Regions from separate parts of the Homo sapiens genome. Here all the other regions are linked to region 1. Evidence: promoter capture Hi-C in 16 types of primary human blood cells and fetal thymus (Javierre and others, 2016). All regions are on one chromosome and are shown on one strand. Each heading gives the region's core, a stretch centred on a gene start or on the middle of the fragment in contact. The rest is flanking DNA. Distances are from core to core; before and after follow the strand shown. Region 1 holds the start of BIN2 (bridging integrator 2). Region 2 holds the start of DIP2B (disco interacting protein 2 homolog B). Region 3 overlaps DIP2B (disco interacting protein 2 homolog B). Region 4 holds the start of ATF1 (activating transcription factor 1).

Evidence for each region. The method cuts DNA at HindIII sites, captures the fragments that hold promoters and counts their contacts. A CHiCAGO score of 5 or more calls a contact.
Region 2: a contact is called between the fragment with the promoter of DIP2B here and the fragment with the promoter of BIN2 in region 1, in 1 of 17 cell types (fetal thymus). The highest score is 5.9, in fetal thymus.
Region 3: a fragment that was not itself captured here is called in contact with the fragment with the promoter of BIN2 in region 1 in 1 of 17 cell types (neutrophils); the score reaches 6.1 in neutrophils.
Region 4: a contact is called between the fragment with the promoter of ATF1 here and the fragment with the promoter of BIN2 in region 1, in 2 of 17 cell types (fetal thymus and neutrophils). The highest score is 7.7, in fetal thymus.

What each region holds. Positions count from the first base shown.
Region 1 is chr12:51,321,879-51,326,077 of GRCh38, forward strand. It overlaps BIN2 (bridging integrator 2), which reads right to left and starts at 2,296. Exons shown (of 13, transcript NM_016293.4): 1 at 2,144-2,296. The coding sequence starts at 2,224. It overlaps LOC105369767 (a long non-coding RNA gene), which reads right to left and starts at 2,130. Exons shown (of 2, transcript XR_944957.3): 1 at 1,850-2,130; 2 at 490-1,325. RefSeq lists an enhancer at 1,822-2,011 and a silencer at 2,042-2,531. The HindIII fragment of the contact is 11,893 bases long and covers 1-4,199 here.
Region 2 is chr12:50,502,558-50,506,756 of GRCh38, forward strand. It overlaps DIP2B (disco interacting protein 2 homolog B), which reads left to right and starts at 2,428. Exons shown (of 38, transcript NM_173602.3): 1 at 2,428-2,683. The coding sequence starts at 2,584. RefSeq lists a silencer at 2,731-2,840. The HindIII fragment of the contact is 3,121 bases long and covers 540-3,660 here.
Region 3 is chr12:50,522,692-50,526,890 of GRCh38, forward strand. The region is part of intron 1 of DIP2B (disco interacting protein 2 homolog B); the gene reads left to right. Among named protein-coding and RNA genes, the nearest start is that of DIP2B, 20 kb to the left of the region's middle. The HindIII fragment of the contact is 8,359 bases long and covers 1-4,199 here.
Region 4 is chr12:50,761,945-50,766,143 of GRCh38, forward strand. ATF1 (activating transcription factor 1) reads left to right here and starts at 2,157. Exons shown (of 7, transcript NM_005171.5): 1 at 2,157-2,363. RefSeq lists enhancers at 1-620, 2,921-3,020 and silencers at 2,111-2,190, 2,411-2,500. The HindIII fragment of the contact is 10,692 bases long and covers 1-4,199 here.

The DNA.
Region 1 (4,199 bases), core at 1,046-3,545:
TATCTTGGTCTCAATAACTTCCCAAGACTCAAGGACTGGCTTCAGGCTGACGGAGCTGAGCTCCCTTCCGGCATCCCAGGCCATTCCCACCTTATCGAAGTTCAACCTTTGCCTACCCTTTTGTCTAGTCTAGGTTCAGAATATCTTGTTTTCTTCATCAGCTGGGAATTCCTCATGGCAGATTTGAGTTTGCTCCTCTTTCTCTACTTCCTCAGGGTTCAGGCCAGAAGAACCTGAGAGACTGGTTCTGTCTTTGGGAAGTATTTGACTCTGAGTCTAATGTGACAGCTTTTCAATTTAGTGTTCTTACCATATTGAGTTTCATCAAGAACATCAACCCTCTCATTTTACAGGTGCAAGATCTGAAGCCCAGAGCAGGACATTATTTAGCCAAGGTTTGGAGTCTATGCTTACAAAGGAGTGAAAGCCCAAAGCAAGGTTTTAGTGTTGACGAGAGGCTAGATGAAGACAGAAGATGCAAGAGTGAAATACAATCAATTGTATGTCTTTTATTTTTATGTATTTATTTTTATTTTTTGAGACAGAGTCTCCCTCTGCTTGAGTGTGGTGTGGTGTGATCACTGCTCACTGCAGTCTTGATCTCCTGGGCTCAAGCAGTCCTCCCACCTTGGCCTCCCAAAGTGCTGGGATTACAGGAGTGAGCCACTGTGCCTGGCTGGTATGTCTTTTTAAAATTACTATCATTCATGAGTGTTTTGTCTTTTAGGGTTTTTTTTTTTTTCAACCACAGTGTGGCCTTCTCTCCAGTACCTCCTGCTCGCCCACACTGTTTCGAGCTAGACCTTCCCATAGGCCCTGCTCTCGGGTCTACCAGATTTGTAAGTCTTCAGAGAGGCTGAAACTAGGATCAAGGTGAAGTTAGGGTAAGTGAAGTAACGAAGTCTGGCTACACGAACTCTTTCCCTTTTCCTCCTCTCTTTCACATGACCTCAAATGATAGAAAATAACCTCCCTTCCATTGTGGTCTCTTAAAGTCAGGAGCTACATCTACATTCCATCAGTTTTCTGCTGATAAATCAACTCGGGAGAGCTGGTTGCCTTTAAGCCTTCCCAGGGCTCAAAGCAGTGCTCCACTTTTAGAAGATAATAGGGATATTTCAGTTGGTAAGCAGAGCTGTTCATCCAAATGCTTCTAAGTCCATCAGCTCTTAGAAAACCAAAACTTCTCCGTTGTAGAAGGCAGGTTGGGCTTAATAAAGAGAGAGAGAAAAAAAGGAAAACCGAAACTCTATCTCAGGTCCTTCTTGTCTTTCTTCCCTCGCTCTTTCTTCTGGCTGACATGTCTTCCCAAACCGCCTTGTCTACTAGAGGGTTGGTAGGTGGAGAGCAGAGGCTCAGGTTAGAAGCAAAGAAAATATTCTGTACAGGTAGAAACAAAAATGCCATCAAAATGTGTAGAGAATGTCCCCACAATTTAGATTGCCAAGCAAGTAATAGATGGGCAGCCCACCTAAGTGCCAGTGCTGGAGCAGGGCTACCTGACACTAACCAAGGACACACTCTGAACACAGATGTGGTTCATCACCCTGGGAGGTGTACTCCCCAACGCCAAAGGGAGGGTAGAAGAAGCAGATTTGGGCTCCTGCTTACGTCAGCTGAAACACCACCCAGAGGCCAGGCAGGGTCAGGTAGGGGGAGAACTATGCAGGATTATTCTAAGCCTTTGGTGGGGGGTGCCTGCTGGCATCCGCTGCATCGCTGTTTTTGGGGAAATTGCCCTCTATGGAAAATTACCCTCCAATTTCATCATCTGTAAAATACCAATTTTGGATTGCTAGCACAAAATTTGATACAAAGGTGGCCACCACCATCACTTCCTTTCTTTCACCTTTTCTGGGTCAGCCTGAGGGTTGTCGAAGGTTCTGCCCAGAGACTGTTGTCTCCCCAGCTTCCCTTATCCTTGCCCAAGATCGGGTGGCGGTCTCCGACCTCTCTCCAATCTGCCAGTTTTCATGGAAGCCCACTCCTCGCTCCCGTTTCCCTGGGAGAGCGGGAGACCCTTCTCGTCAGCCCAGACCCTTCGGGGCCCCTGAGCACCCTGCCCGCCCCTCCTGCCCGGCCGGGCTCGGCCTCGGCCTCGGCTCCCTGTGGGCCAGACAGACAGCGAGGCCCGGCCACCTACCTTCTCCTGGGCCCTGCTAAACTTCTTCTGCACCTGCTTGGCGAAGAGGCCGGCCGCGCCGCCTGCCTTGCCCTCTGCCATCCTGCCAACTCCCTGGGGGCCGCCGCCCTGGCCCCGCGCCCTGTGGTTTTCTGAGGCCCCCGAGGAGGAAGTGCGGGCTCCCGGCATGCCTCGCATCCGGCCCCAGCCCTGAGCCACCTCAGGCCGCCCCTGGCCAGCCCTGAGGCCCGCCCCTCAGCCCACCACTGTCAGCTGGAGCAGGCCGGCTCGGAGGGGCGGGCCCGGGGCCTACCCTCAGGCAGCGCTCGCTCGAGGCCAGCTTCCGAGCTCCAACCCCTGCCCGAAACCTCGGCCTCACTGAACCAGGTCCTCAGTGGTGGGCCCACACTCACTCGCTCCGGAAAGCCAGTTCCCATCACGCTGAGCACTGCAAAGCAACTGCCACCGCAGGGTAGAAAATGATGTGGGTTCCACTCAGCGAGAGGACCTACCATATCGAAAACACGTTTAGGTTCTCTGAGTATGCATGCGAAGCCGCCATGTACACTGCGTTTCTTGCTCCAGGTAGGCTCTAAGCCTGGAACTGGTAGGGATAGAGTGCAGAAAGCAGGCAGGACACCCGAGCCGGGCTTGAAAGAGAGAAACAGGCCGGGCGCGGTGGCTCACGCCTGTAATCCTAGCACTTTGGGAGGCCGAGGCGGGTGGATCGCCTGAGGTTAGGAGATCAGCCTGACCAATACGGTGAAACCGCGTCGCTACTAAAAATACAAAAATTAGCTGGGTGTGGTGGCGCACGCCTGCAGTCCCAGCTACTCGAGAGGATGACGCAGGAGAATTGTTTGAACCCGGGAGGCAGAGGTTGCAGTGAGCCGAAATCGCGCCACTGCATTCCAGCCTGGGCGACAGAGCGACAGTTCGTCTCAAATAAATAAATAAATAAATAAATAAATAAATAAATAAATGAGGAACAACTAAGCTGGAGATAGAAACAGGGTAGGGGGCTGGTTCTTAGGCAAGAGAATGATCACATTGAAAAAAGGCTGAGGAGGATAGTATGGACGCCCGTGCTGAGCATGAGGAGCAAGTTTTTCTAGTTGGAGTACAGTGTACTGGATGGAGGCAGAATGTGAACACAGACACAGATTGTGCAAATTGGGGTGCGGCTGTTGAGATGACAACTATTGTTTCTTTAGGGAGAAGTTCTCCAAAAAATTCCTCCCTGACCTGTTTGAGGGGATAGCTTGAGATTAGGACACTAGGTGTGGAGGAACCACGTACTCAGATTTTACAGTGCAGGTTAAAATTTCCTCAAGGCAGGGAAGAAGGTCAAAATAACACTTCCTAAGGAGTGGAGGGGGAAGATAGGGCCTGACACAAAATTAGAGGCCCTTGTATGCTACTGTGTTCCTCTTCTTTCTCCAAAACAATCATTACTGCACTCAAGGTCAACTGTGTACCAGGCATTGCTGGGTGTTCTGAAACAAGGATGAATAAAATGCAGTCCCTGACCTTAAGATGCTTAATGAAGTCTGGCCGGGCACCACGGCTCACACCTGTAATCCCAACACTTTAGGAGGCTGAGGCAGGCAGATTGCTTGAGCCCAGGAGTTTGAGACTAGCCTGCGCAACATAGCAAGACCTTCTCTCTGCTAAAAATACAAAAATTAATTGGGCGTGGTGGCACACACCTGTAGTCCCAGCTATCAGGGAGGCTGAGGTGGGAGGATCACCCGAGCCAAGGGAGGTGGAGGCTGCAGTGAGCCCTGATGGTGCCACTGCATTCCAGCCTGGGCAAAGCGTGAGGCCCTTTCTCAACCAATAAAGAATAAGTATTAATAAATAAGTACATAAATAAAGATGCTTAAAGTCTGGAAGTGGAGATAGGTGGGTAATCAGGTGATTCTAATGTAATGTGCTTAATTTATTTGTAGAGATGGATACAAAATTTTCTGGGAATAGGTGATTAGGGTTTGTTTGTTTGTTTGTTTGTTTGGAGACAGGGTCTTGCTTTGTTGCCAGGCTGGAGTGCAGCAGTGCCATCAGGGCTCACTGCAGC
Region 2 (4,199 bases), core at 1,178-3,677, 820 kb before region 1:
AGCCACCACACCTGGCCTCGGAGAAAAATTTAATGTTAAACTTTTAAAATAGTCACAGAAAGAATAGCAGTATAATCTGTACCTTCCAAACCAGAAGAACAAAGAAGTACTATCTAACACTTTACTAATTCAACAATAGGAGAAAAAGGGGGGGAAGAAAGCAAAGACAGAGATTGATAAACAGAAAACATTTAACAAGAATGAAGAAATAAGTCCTAATATATCAGTAATTATATTAAATGAACTTAAATGGATTTAATTAATTTGTTACAACCAGAGTCACAGACAAAAGTTGAAAATAAAAGACTAAAAAAAGTCAGCAAGTAGTAATTAAAAAGGCTGGTACAACAATAATATCTAGACAAAAAGATTAAGGTAAAGAATAAACAATTAGAAATAAAGAGAATATAAGGAATAATCTAGCAAAAAGGTAGAATAATTTGGTGGAAGAATGCAGTAAAGGCTGGATGAGGTGGCTTATGCCTGTAATCCCAGCACTTTGAGAGGCTGAGGTAGGAGGATCTCTCAAGTTTGTTCTAAGCTTCTATAATTTTAAATAAATGTTTTACTTTAGAATGGTTTTAAATTTACTGAAAAGTTGCAAAGATAGTACAGATAATTCCTGTGTATGCTTCATCCAGTTTTTCCTTTTTTTTTTTTTTTTTTTTTGAGACGGAGTTTCGCTCTTGTTGCCCAGGCTGGAATGCAGTGGTGCAATCTGGGCTTACCGCAACCTCCACTTCCCGGGTTCAAGCGATTCTCCTGTCTCAGCCTCCCGAGTAGCTGGGATTACAGGCACATGCCACCATGCCCAGCTAATTTTTGTATTTTTAGTAGACGCGGGGTTTCACCATACTGGTCAGGCTGATCTCCAACTCCTGACCTCAGGTGATCTGCCTGCCTCGGCCTCCCAAAGTGCTGGGATTACAGATGTGAGCGACCACGCCCGGCCTTGACTTTTTTTTTTTTTTTTGAAACAGTTTCACTGCGTTGCCCAGGCTGGAGCGCAGCCGCCATGTTCTCAGCTCACTGTAACCTTGGCCTCCCGGGTTCAAGCGACGTTCCTACCTCAGCTCCCCCAGGTAGCTGGGATTACAGGCATGTGCCACTACTCCCGGCTAATTTTTGTGTTTTTAGTAGAGACGGGGTTTCGCCATGTTGGCCAGGCTGGTCTCGAACTCTTGACCTCAGGTGATCCGCCCACCTTGGCCTCCCAAAGTGCTGGGATCATAGGTGTGAGCCACTGCACCTAGCCTTGGACCCTCTTCATATTAAATTAAAATTAATGTTTTTGGAACACCTATTAGGCCACAGAGTGAGGAGGATGAGTTAAAGTAAGTTCCCTCCTTGTAAGTAGTTAGAAGTATAGAAAGAAAGAAGTGGACCTGCTCTCTATTGTCTTTTTCTTTTCTTTAGACGGAGTGTTTGCTCTCTTGCCCGGGCTGGAGTGCAATGACGCGATCTCAGCTTACTGTAACCTCTGCCTCCTGGGTTCAAGTGATTCTCCTGCCTCAGCCTCTTGAGTAGCTAGGAGTACAGGCATCCGCCACCACGCCCGGCTAATTTTTGTATTTTTATTGGAGACGGGGTTTCACCATGTTGGCCAGGCTGGCCTAGTACTCTTTTTTTTTTTTTTTTGAGTCGGAGTCTCGCGCTCACGCTCAGGCTGGAGTGCAGTGGCGTGATCTTGGCTCACTGCAAGCTCCGCCTCCCGGGTTCACGCCATTCTCCTGCCTCAGCCTCCCGAGTAGCTGGGACTACAGGCGCCCGCCACCACGCCCGGCTAATTTTTTGTACTTTTAGTAGAGACGGGGTTTCACCGTGTCAGCCAGGATGGTCTCGATCTCCTGACTTCGTGATCCACCCGTCTCGGCCTCCCAAAGTGCTGGGATTACAGGCGTGAGCCACCGCGCCCGGTCGGCTAGCCTGGTACTCTTAACCTCAGGTGATCCACCAGCCTCAGCCTCCCAAAGTGCTAGGATTACAGGCGAGAGCCACCGCGCCTGTCTTTTTAAAAGCTAAAACTGAAACGGAAACAGAGCTCCTGGCAGATAGGACCAGGAGCCACAGCGAAGGAGGTGGCCTGTGATTAGGTTTTTATAAATGGGCAGGTATTAATCAGGGAAAATGGAGTAAAGGACACGATAGACATACATTGCTAAGTCTAGTATTGGAAAAAGTAAGGCCTGGGACCCCTAAAAACTTGCTCGAGAGTGAAAGGTAAATGCTATGTGTCCACACTACTGTGGTAAAGCCGACAGTCCATACCATGAGCCCATTTCGCGCAGGGAAATTCGAGTGGTGGGCTTGGGCCCGTCGTTCTGGTAGCTTCCCAGTAGAGGGCGCCGTAAGCATATGCGTCTTCAGCCTGACTGGGCTGGAGAGGCGGTGCGTCCTCCTGGCCGGGGGGCGGGGGCCGTCGCGCTCACGTGACCTTTGCTCATGGCGGCGGCGGCGGCGGCGGCGGTGCTGGTGGTGCTCGGCGGCCGGAGCCGGATCCTGTAGCCGGGTGTGGGCCCGTGTCTGTCCGTCCCTCCTTCGGCCCCCTCTCTTGTCTTCCGGAGTGTGGCTGGCGGAGCTGGGATGGCGGAACGAGGCCTGGAGCCGTCGCCGGCCGCGGTGGCGGCGCTGCCGCCTGAAGTGCGGGCGCAGCTGGCGGAGCTGGAGCTGGAGCTCTCGGAGGGTAGGAGCCGGGCCGGGGAGAGGGCGCCCGGGGCCCTGCGGATCGCGGCGACTTGGGAGACAGGTCCCCGCCGCGCGCTCTGGCGGCCGTGCGGCGAGGGGGACGAGGGTGTAGAGAACCTGGCCTGGCGCTCCACGACCGTTTTCCCTCCTCTCCCACCCCATTAAGTGGTTTCCTGTGGCTTTCATTGTTTTCCCATGGAGGGGACTAAGTAAGGGCTTGTGGAAAGGTCCTCCCGGGCCCACACTGCTTCTGCGCTTCCTGCCCCCCAAAACCCGAGACAAAGCTGCGCCCTCCCGCTTCTGCCCAGGCGTCTGGCCCAGGTGGGGTGAGGGGTAGGGCTGCGAGGAGGGTGGCTGACAGCTTTCTCCTTTCCTCTCCCCTTTTCGTGGAGGGCTCCACGCCTTGTTCCAGCCCCCCCTTCCCCCTTTCAAAAAGAGACACATGGGAAATCCGCAGCATCATTTCTTCTCTTTCCTTTAACAATGCGCGATGCCTCCCCAGTGACAGGAGTGAGACACAAGCGGGTGAGCCATTTAGGGTCCTAGGAAGATAAGAAGCAATGGCATTAACCCAGAGAGACACACGGTGCTGCTTTTAGACCACCTTTGTCATAAGAAGTTTTTTTTTTTCCTGGTGCCTGTTATTCGGGCCGAATTTTCCGCATCTGGTCACCTTTTGGAGTCTTTGATGAAGGAAGGAGAGGAGGCTACCGTTTACTTGCAAATCCTGGCTGGCATTCTTTCTTTTGACAATGGATTGGGACAGGGAGGGTTCGATTTATTTTCAGAATTAAAAAAAAAAAATGGGATAAATCAAGCCACTGTTATTAGAGAACTCCTTGTACAACAATGAGAGAAACACAGTGCTCCGTTGTGGGCATGTGATCAGGCTTCTGGGGCAGTTGTGATCAGTTCTGTGTAAAGTTCCTGTTTTTATCACTGGCTGCCCCTGAGACAAAAGCAGCATTTTCTCCAAGCTTGATACCAGTACTTTGATTGTGTCTCCAGAGTTGCATATTCTTACTGAGTTCCTTGTGGAAGGCCCTCTTCACTAGCATTTTTCAAGTGGATCAAAAACTCTTGATTGGAAAAGAAGAATGTGACCAACTCCCAGGAGCTTATTAAACATTACTTATTGTTTACTTATTAAGGCATTATGGTTCCCTCCCCTCTGAGAATCCTTTACAATGAAAAACCAAAAATAGAGTTGAATGTTATAAATCCTGTTGGGCACTGAAGGAAATAATTATTTTTAATAACCCTTTTAATAACCCAATGTGTAGGAAAGTGCTGTTTTTACCTGTACTTAACTATCAACATGTTATTTTTCAATTAATCCAATTTTCAAGTTATTCTTCGGCCAGTCCCGGGAATCACTGGTATTAGATTAGTTTGTTTCTGTGAAGTGTTTAAGAAGATAGGAATCCTCTGGGTTTGTCTGCCCAGTTATACCTTAAGTTCCCCCCGCTTCGAAAATCGAGGAGCTTTTTGCATTACCATCAATTCTGTCTCTC
Region 3 (4,199 bases), core at 623-3,122, 800 kb before region 1:
CCTGCTTGTATATACATAGTATATATTGAGAATGACAAGGAATGTGTGATATAAATGCTAAGTAAGAATCCAGAAGAAACATATTGCAAGAGAAAACCTAGTCGTCTGAAAGAAACATTCCCAGTGATTTCAGCAGAACTCAGATGTTGGACAGGGTAATGTGGTGGATAGGTGGTAAGTAAAAGCATTATTTGATGTCACTGGGATATTGGCAGGGGAAGAATGGGAATTAACTGCATTGGTGAGGAGAAAAATATTTTATTTATAAAAGTGTTAAAAATTATAAAATATTTCCTGGAATATATTTGGGAAAAAGAGAAAAATTATACAATACTTAAATATTGTAAGAAAGACATAAGATCTGTATGAAGAAAATTGTAAAACTTTAAAGATATAAAAGCAGAATCTGAAAAAATGGAAATATATACAGTTGTTCCTTTCTTCGTAGGGGATTGGTTCCGGGACTCCCCTCAGTTACCAAAATCCAAGGGTGCTCAAGTCTGCTAAAAAATGGCATGGTATTTGCATGTAACGTAAGCACATCCTCTTGTTTAAATCAACTCTAGATTACTTATATACTTGTATAGTACCTAATACAGTGAAAATACTATGTCAATAGTTGTTATTCTTTATAATTCAGAGAGTGATGACAGGAAAAAAAAAATCTGTACATGTTCAGTACAGATGGCTTTTTTTCCTCCACCTATTTTCACTTAGAGGTTTGTTTAATCCATGGATGTGGAACCCAAAGATATGGACGGGCCAACTGTACTGTGTTCCTGAATGAGAAGACTGATATATATAAATTTAATGGGAGTCCAATTAGAACTCCAATGGAAGATTCTTTAGGGAATGGAGAATTAGATAAAATGATCTTAGTGTTCACATGGAAGAATAAATAGAATAGCCAAGAAAATTTAGAAACGGAATAGTGAGGTGATACTTGGCCTTACCACATATTAAAACAGATTCTAAAGTTACTGTATTCAAAGCAGTATGGTATTAGCTTTAAAACAGGATGAATGGACAGAATACTATGCCCAAATTCTTATATATATAGGAAAACAATTACGTGTGAAAACATACAAGTTGTATTAGCTTAGTTCAGTTGTCTTCCCAATTTCCTCAAATTATAAAATATTTTAAAATAAATTTACTAGGACTCCATAGGACATCAGAATAGAGAACTTGTTGATATTCTGTTTATCCTGTCAGGAGGAGTACACTGGAGCTAGAAAGAAAAGCCTCTTCCTGCAATGTCTTTCCAGTGCCCTCTATGGACAGGCAAAGTTTAACATCATGGCAGCTGTCAAAGGAAAAATATTTAAAGGGCCCATCTCAGTTTTCACAGAGCAGCGAGGGTATATTTGGAGCTGAAAGGCCATAAATTGATAACACATCCTTGATTCCTCTCCTTCAGGCCACCTCTCTGTATCAAGTCCATCAGTGAGCCTTTTTGGTACTACCTTGAGAATATATTCTAAATCTACTTCTTTCCATGCCGAGTCACTGTTAATCATGCCCATGTCATCACATCTCTTGCTTCTTTAGCTCCTTACCTGGTGGTGTCCCAGCTTTCTTCTCTCTAACCCATTTTCCACATAGCAGGTAGAGAGCTTTTTAAACTGCAAATTAGGTCATATTACTTCCCCGCTTTATAGCTCTTCCATGAATTCAGTTTGTCTTTAAAATATAATTCAGATACGTTTCCATGGCCTGCAAGACCTACACCGCCCTGACCCCTCATCTTTTCCCCTCACCCATTGTGCTTCAGCCACATTGGCTGACTCTTCTTTCTCTTTTCCTTCCTCCCTTCTCTCCTTCCCTATTCTTCCCTCTCCTCTCCACCTGTCTCCCTGCCTCCCTCCATCCTCCCGCTTCCCTCTTCCTTTTTTTAATTTATCTGGTGTTTATTGAGTGCCTACTATGTGCCACATAGGTGCAGGTGATACAGCAGTGATTAACATGACAAACACCCCTCCCCTTAGGGGGCTTACATCTGTAGCTGTAGACAGAGAATAACAAGTAATATGTATTGCTTGTTAGATGGTAAAAATTTATTGTTATTTTTTTTGAGACAGGTTGGAGTGTAGTGGTGTGATCATGGCTCAACTGCAGCTTCCTCTTCCTGGGCTCAAGAGATCCTCCCCCTCAGCCTGCTGAGTAGCTAGGACTCCAGGCCTGTGCCACCATGCCCGCCTAATTTTTATTTTTTGTAGATACAGGGTCTTGCCATGTTTCCCAGGCTAGTCTCAAATTCTTGGGCTCGAGCAATCCTCTTGCCTTGGTGCCCTGCAGAGTGTTGGGATTACAGGTGTGAGCCTCTGTGCCTGGCCATTTGGTAAAAATTTCAATGGAGAAAAAGCATCAAGAGGGACAGAGAAGGCTGGGCACGGTGGCTCACACCTGTAATCCCAGCACTTTGGGAGGCCGAGGCGGGCAGATCACGAGGTCAGGAGATTGAGACCATCCTGGCTAACATGGTGAAACCCCATCTCTACTAAAAATACAAAAAAATTAGCTGGGTGTGGTGTTGGGCGCCTGTAGTCCCAGCTACTTGGAAGGCTGAGGCAGGAGAATGGCGTGAACCCGGGAGGCGGAGCTTGCAGTGAGCCGAAAGCGGGCCACTGCACTCCAGCCTGGGCGACAGAGCGAGACTCCATCTCAAAAAAAAAAAAAAAAAATACAGAGAATACCGGTAGAGGGTTATTGGGCACAATTTAAAAGAGGGTGGTCATCATGAGATGATACTTTGAACAAAATAGGCATTTCTTTTCTTCCTTGAACTCAACCGTGATGCATGTTGCTGCCTCTAGGTCCCCTTTTTTTTTTTTTTTTTGAGACAGAGTCTCACTCTCTCATCCAGGCTGGAGTGCAGTGGTGTACATGGAGCTCACTGCAGCCTTGACCTCCCAGGCTCAAGAGATCCTCCCACCTCAGCCTCCCTAGTAGCTGAGACTATAGGTTTGCACTATCACACCTTGCTAATTTTTTTATATTTTGTAGCTACAGGATCTCACTCTGTTGCCCAGACTTGTCTTGAACTCCTGGGCTCAAGCCATCCTCCCACCTTGGCCTCCCAAAGTGCCGGGGTTGCAGGTGTGAACCACCATGCCTGGCCACCTCTATGTCTTGTTCCTTGCTTTTCTTCTTCCTAGAATGTTCTGCTCCAACTTAGTCTCAGTTCAAAGTTAACCTCCTTAGAGAACCTCCAAGGTTAAATTAGCAACCCCTCCCATCATTCTTCATCTCACCACTCTCTTTTACTTTCTTTTTTTCCTGTTTAAAATTTTCTAATTAATACCAACATTTGAAATGATCTTGTTCATATATTAATATGATTGGATTCTTCCTCAGTAAAATGTTTGTTTTTTGAGTGCAGAGATTTTACTGTCTTGTTCCCTGCTGTCTCTCTAGTGCCTAGAATAGAAGACTCAATAGACACTTGTTCAGTGAACAAATGGACTTTGCAGGGAGAAGATTCCAATGGAATTCTTTAGATGGTGGCAGCTTTAAAGAGTAAAGAAGTGTAGGCTCTGTCCCCAGGGTCTCTGCCAGGAAGGATGGGGACCCCTGTGGAAGCTGGTGAGAGCTGCCCCTCAGGGGCCTATGTGTTTCCTGGCATTTGGTTTTTAATGTTTGCTTGTTTGTTTTTCCCTTATTTTCCTCACTATATACCCTCTGATTTTTACACTTGACTTTTACAGTTGGGTGATATGTGACAACTTTCCGTTTCTTCAGTCTGCCTGACTACTTTGCTTATCCAATTCATTTGGTATTTATTATGCAAATACTTTCAGAATACACAGCTCCAAGCCTGGGACAGTGCTTGGGTGAGAGCTGGAGCCACGCCACTGTGCTCCCTGAACAGGAGGCAGACACTTCTCATTTTTTTGTGTACTTTGCACATGCATTGATTCTCTTTTTCCTCTGCCTTTTTTTTTTTTTTTTTTTTTTTTTTTGAGACAGAGTTTCACTCTTGTTGCCCAGGCTGGAGTGCAATGGCGCGATCTCGGCTCACTGCAACCTCTGCCTCCCGGGTTCAAGCGATTTCCTGCCTCAGCCTCACCAGTAGCTGAGATTACAGGCCTGTGCCACCACGCTTGGCTACTTTTTGTATTTTTAGTAGAGACAGGGTTTCACCATGTTGGCCAGGTTGGTCCCAAACTCCTGGCCTCAGGTAATACGACTACCCCGGT
Region 4 (4,199 bases), core at 907-3,406, 560 kb before region 1:
CATTTTGAAGGTTTCATTTTTCAATAAAATTTCCAGGTTTTTATTTTTTTTCTTTGGAGACAGTCTCCCTCTGTGGCTCAGGCTGGAGTGCAGTGGCGTGATCTTGGCTCACTGCAACATCTGCCTCCCAGGTTCAAGCGATTCTCATGCTTCAGCCTCCTGAGAGGCTGGGATTACAGGTGTGTGCCACCACACCTGGCTAATTTTTGTATTTTTAGTAGAGACGGGGTTTCACCATGTTGGCCAGGCTGGTCTCGAACTCCTGACCTCAGGTGATCTGCCCTCCCCCACCTCCCAAAGTGCTGGAATTACAGTCATGAACCACGACGCCTAGCCCCTCCCCCGCTTTTTACTGATCAACTTTTGTTAAGCATTCTGTGGTCCACGGAAGAAAAAACCAAACACCAAAGAACAATAAACTTGTACAACCAGCCTTCCAGCCATCAATATTCTGGATTCCAGAATGATTGAGGCTGGACTTTGTTAATCATCGAAGGCTGGTATCTGAGAAACTCTTCCTCTCCCTTACCTTTATAGGCCACTTTTCTTTCAGTAATGCTGAAACACTGACTTAATAACAGTTGTCCCCTGGTCTAGCATTTAATAGGTAATCCACAATTTTTGCTGAATGTCAATAGCTAAACGTTAGTGACCTCTTAAGACTGTCTGGCAGAGTAAATCTTCGGCTTTATATCACATTCTCCGACCCAAAGGGCCAAAAATAGGCAAAGCTCTCTCCACTAAATCGGTTTCCTAAATTGGGGATCTCAAACTAGTAAAATTTCAGAAAACTTTCGGAACTTTTGTCAAGAGCATACTAAAAAAGTTTATCTTTTGTCGTTTACTATCATTAAAGCCATAAAACAGCATTTTACAAGGAAATTTTAAAAATTAAGAATAAGGCATAACTCCCTTCCAGAGAGGTAGACCCAAAAATATTCTGAAGTTTTTGTAATGCATTAAAATGACGGCATAACATTTTATTAACACTCTGTTACGTTTCTTTTTTCTTTTTTTTTGAGACAGTTTTGCTCTTGTTGCCCAGGCTGGAGTGCAACGGTGCGATCTCGGCTCACCGCAACCTCCGCCTCCCGGGTTCAAGCGATTCTCCTGCCTCAGCCTCCCAAGTAGCTTGGATTACAGGCATTCGCCACCACACCCGGCTACTTTTGTATTTTTTAGTAGAGACGGGGTTTCTCCATGTTGGTCAGGCTGGTTTCGAACTCCCGATCTCAGGTGATCCGCCCTCCTGGGCCTCCCAAAGTGCTGGGATTACAGGCATGAGCCACCGCGCCCGGCCACATCGTTATGTCTCATTGTAAATCCGTTTCTGTAGAAAATCCTTCCACATGGGTTAAAGGACACAACTCATTGTTACTTTATGGGATTAAGAAAAATCTGAGTAAGGCCGGGCACGGTGGCTCACGCCTGTAATCCCAGAACTTTGAGAGGCCGAGGCGGAGGATCACTTGAGCCCAGGAGTTCAAGACCAGCCTGAGCAACATAGAGTCCTCATCTCTTCAAGCCGAGCGTGGTAGCGCGCGCCTGTGGTCCCAGCTGCCCCATAGGCTGAGGTTGGAGAATCGCTTGAATCCCGGGGTTGGAGGCTGCAGTGAGTCGAGATCGAACCACTGCACTACAGCCTGGGCCACAGACCCCCGTCTCAATCTCGGAAAAAAAAAAGAGACTCCATCTAAAAAAAAAAAAAAAAAAAAAAAGCTGAGGAAGTCAAAGCCTTCACTCTTCATTTCTCCTTCCAAGAGGACAGGGCCGGCGTCGGTCAAGGTCAATTGGCAGGTGAGTTGACAGCGCCGCCACTAATCGATGAAAACGCCCCCCGCGAGCACCCAGCTGCTCATGGCCTCCGGAAGCGGACGTAGGGCGGGTGGGGTACAGCTCCTAAGGAGAAACGGAACCGCAGGCACCGTCCCTCTCCCGCTGCAGCCTGAGGAACGCGTTCCGAGGAACCCCTAGCCACAAGTCAGGACCGCGTACAAGATGGCGGCGCGTCACGTGGGCAGCGCGGTGACGCAGGACGGCGGCCCGCGCGGAGGCAGCGCCATAGCCTACCCCAAACGCACACTAGTGCTCAGTTTTGCCCCCCTCCCCTCCCCCGCCCCCGCCCCCGCCCCCAGGCTTGTGTAGATCATGCCGCCAGTAGCGGCCCTGACTGCCGAGGAAACGGTAGCTTAGGACAGTTGGCTGTTAAGTGACACTGATTCTCCCCGCCCCGCCTGACCCCCGAGAAGGAGGCTTGTCCCCCGCTGCGTGAGGGGGTGGGGAAGTGGGTAGTGAATTCGGATCTACCTGGGAGGGGGGAGTGGAAGTTCCCGCCCCGGAGAGCGGCGAGGCGGCAGCCACAGGTAAGTGGGGGGCGGGGAGGGACGTGCCCCGTGGCCCGGGCGGGGAAGGACGCGGGAACGTGGCGCCGGCGGGGACGCAGCGCGGGTCGCGCGCCTGGTGGGGGTCGCGCGCGGTGGTGGCGGTGGGGGAGGGGCGCAGCGGCAGGGGGAGGGGCCGCCCGCGCTTCCGGCCTCCGCGCCTCGGTGCAGAGCTGCGCTGCGCCCTTCCAGTCGTGCGTCTCCTCCTTTCCCTCGCCCCCAAATAAAAGTAAAGCCCGAAACCGCCCGCCGCGGGGTGGCTTTCGCCTCAGAAGCCGCCCTTTGCAGTCGCAGGCGCTAGCTCTCCGTGGGAGGTCTCGAGGTTGGGCCCGGAGCCGGGCGGAGGGCGGCGCGGATATGGCCTCGGCGCGGTGTCCGCCGAGCGGAGCCCGGGTCTGGTTAACCCCGCGACAGGGTCCTCGAAGCGCGTCGGCGCTGGCGACCCTGAGGGAAGAGGCGCGCCCCTTACCCTCCTGGAGCTTGCAGTCTAGCGGGCAACCGACGCACGGGCATTGCGCACGCCCCAGACAGTCCTGGAGAGATGCGCCTGGCAGCGGAGACAGAGTGGGGACAGTAGGCGGCTTTACCCCTGGCTAGGAATGACACAAGGGCGTCTGTACCCTTTGGGATGGGCGACCCAGCCGAGGGTGACTTTCTCTTTGATCTTGTATGTCAAAAAACGAAGCCTGGCATTTCTCACTTTGATCGACGCCGTGCAGCTGGCGGCTGAATCGCTTTGAAATGATTGCAATGTGAAATAATGTCTGGTTGTGGCGCTAGTGTTTTGAAGAGATTGGGCAACTGGTAGTCTTTGAGAACCTTTAGGGTTCAGAAGCTCGGCGTGGATCTGGCAGGCATCTTTGTCAAACTGGCCTCACCTGTGATGAGTTCGTAGGCATTTATGTCTCAGAATGCATTTTAACCTGAGGTTTTTGTTAACAGAAATGCGTTCTTCTAAAATGCTCTTTTTTCTTGGAGTTTATCATATGCAGTTATCTCCGTGTCTTAATTAGAATCAATACTGTTGCCCTAAAGTCGAATGTATTAGCTCTTTAATACTTGCCGTTATCTTTTAGGGTTAGGTTTGGTCTGTGAGCTATCTGTCCATTCCTACCCGATCACCAGCAGGTGGCAGTCCCTTCTGACTTTAAATATAGGGTGTGCTATCTTTGCCAGTTTTTGTTTTGTTTTGTTTGTTTGTTTGTTTGTTTTTAAATAGAGATGGTGTCAGAGGCGTGTGAACTAGAACAACTCCATCTTAAACAGGAGCTGGGTAAAATGAGGCTGAAACCTACTGGGCTGCATTCCCAGACAGTTAAGGCATTCTAAGTCACAGGATGAGACAAGTCAGCACAAAATACAGGTCATGAAGACCTTGCTGATAAAACAGGTTGCAGTAAAGAAGCCGGCCAAAACTGAAATGGCCACAAGAGTGACCCCTGGTCATCCTCACTGCTACACTCCCATCAGCGCCATTTACAAATCCCATGGCAATGTCAGGAAGTTACCCTATATGGTCTAAAAAGGGGAGGCGTGATTAATCCACCCCTTGTTTAGCCTATCATTGAGAAATAACAGTAAAAAGGGGTAACCAGCAGCCCTTGGGGCTGCTCTGTCTATGGAGTAGCCGTTCTTTTTATTCCTTTACTTTCTTCATAATGTTACTTTTACATCGCACTGTGGACTTGCCCTGAATTATTTCTTGCGCGAGATCCAAGAACCCTCAGTTGGGGCCTGGATCAGGACGCCTGTCCTGTAACATATTTCTGGCGACCACAAAGGGACTATAGTGCAGAAACCCTGACCCAACGGCTACCT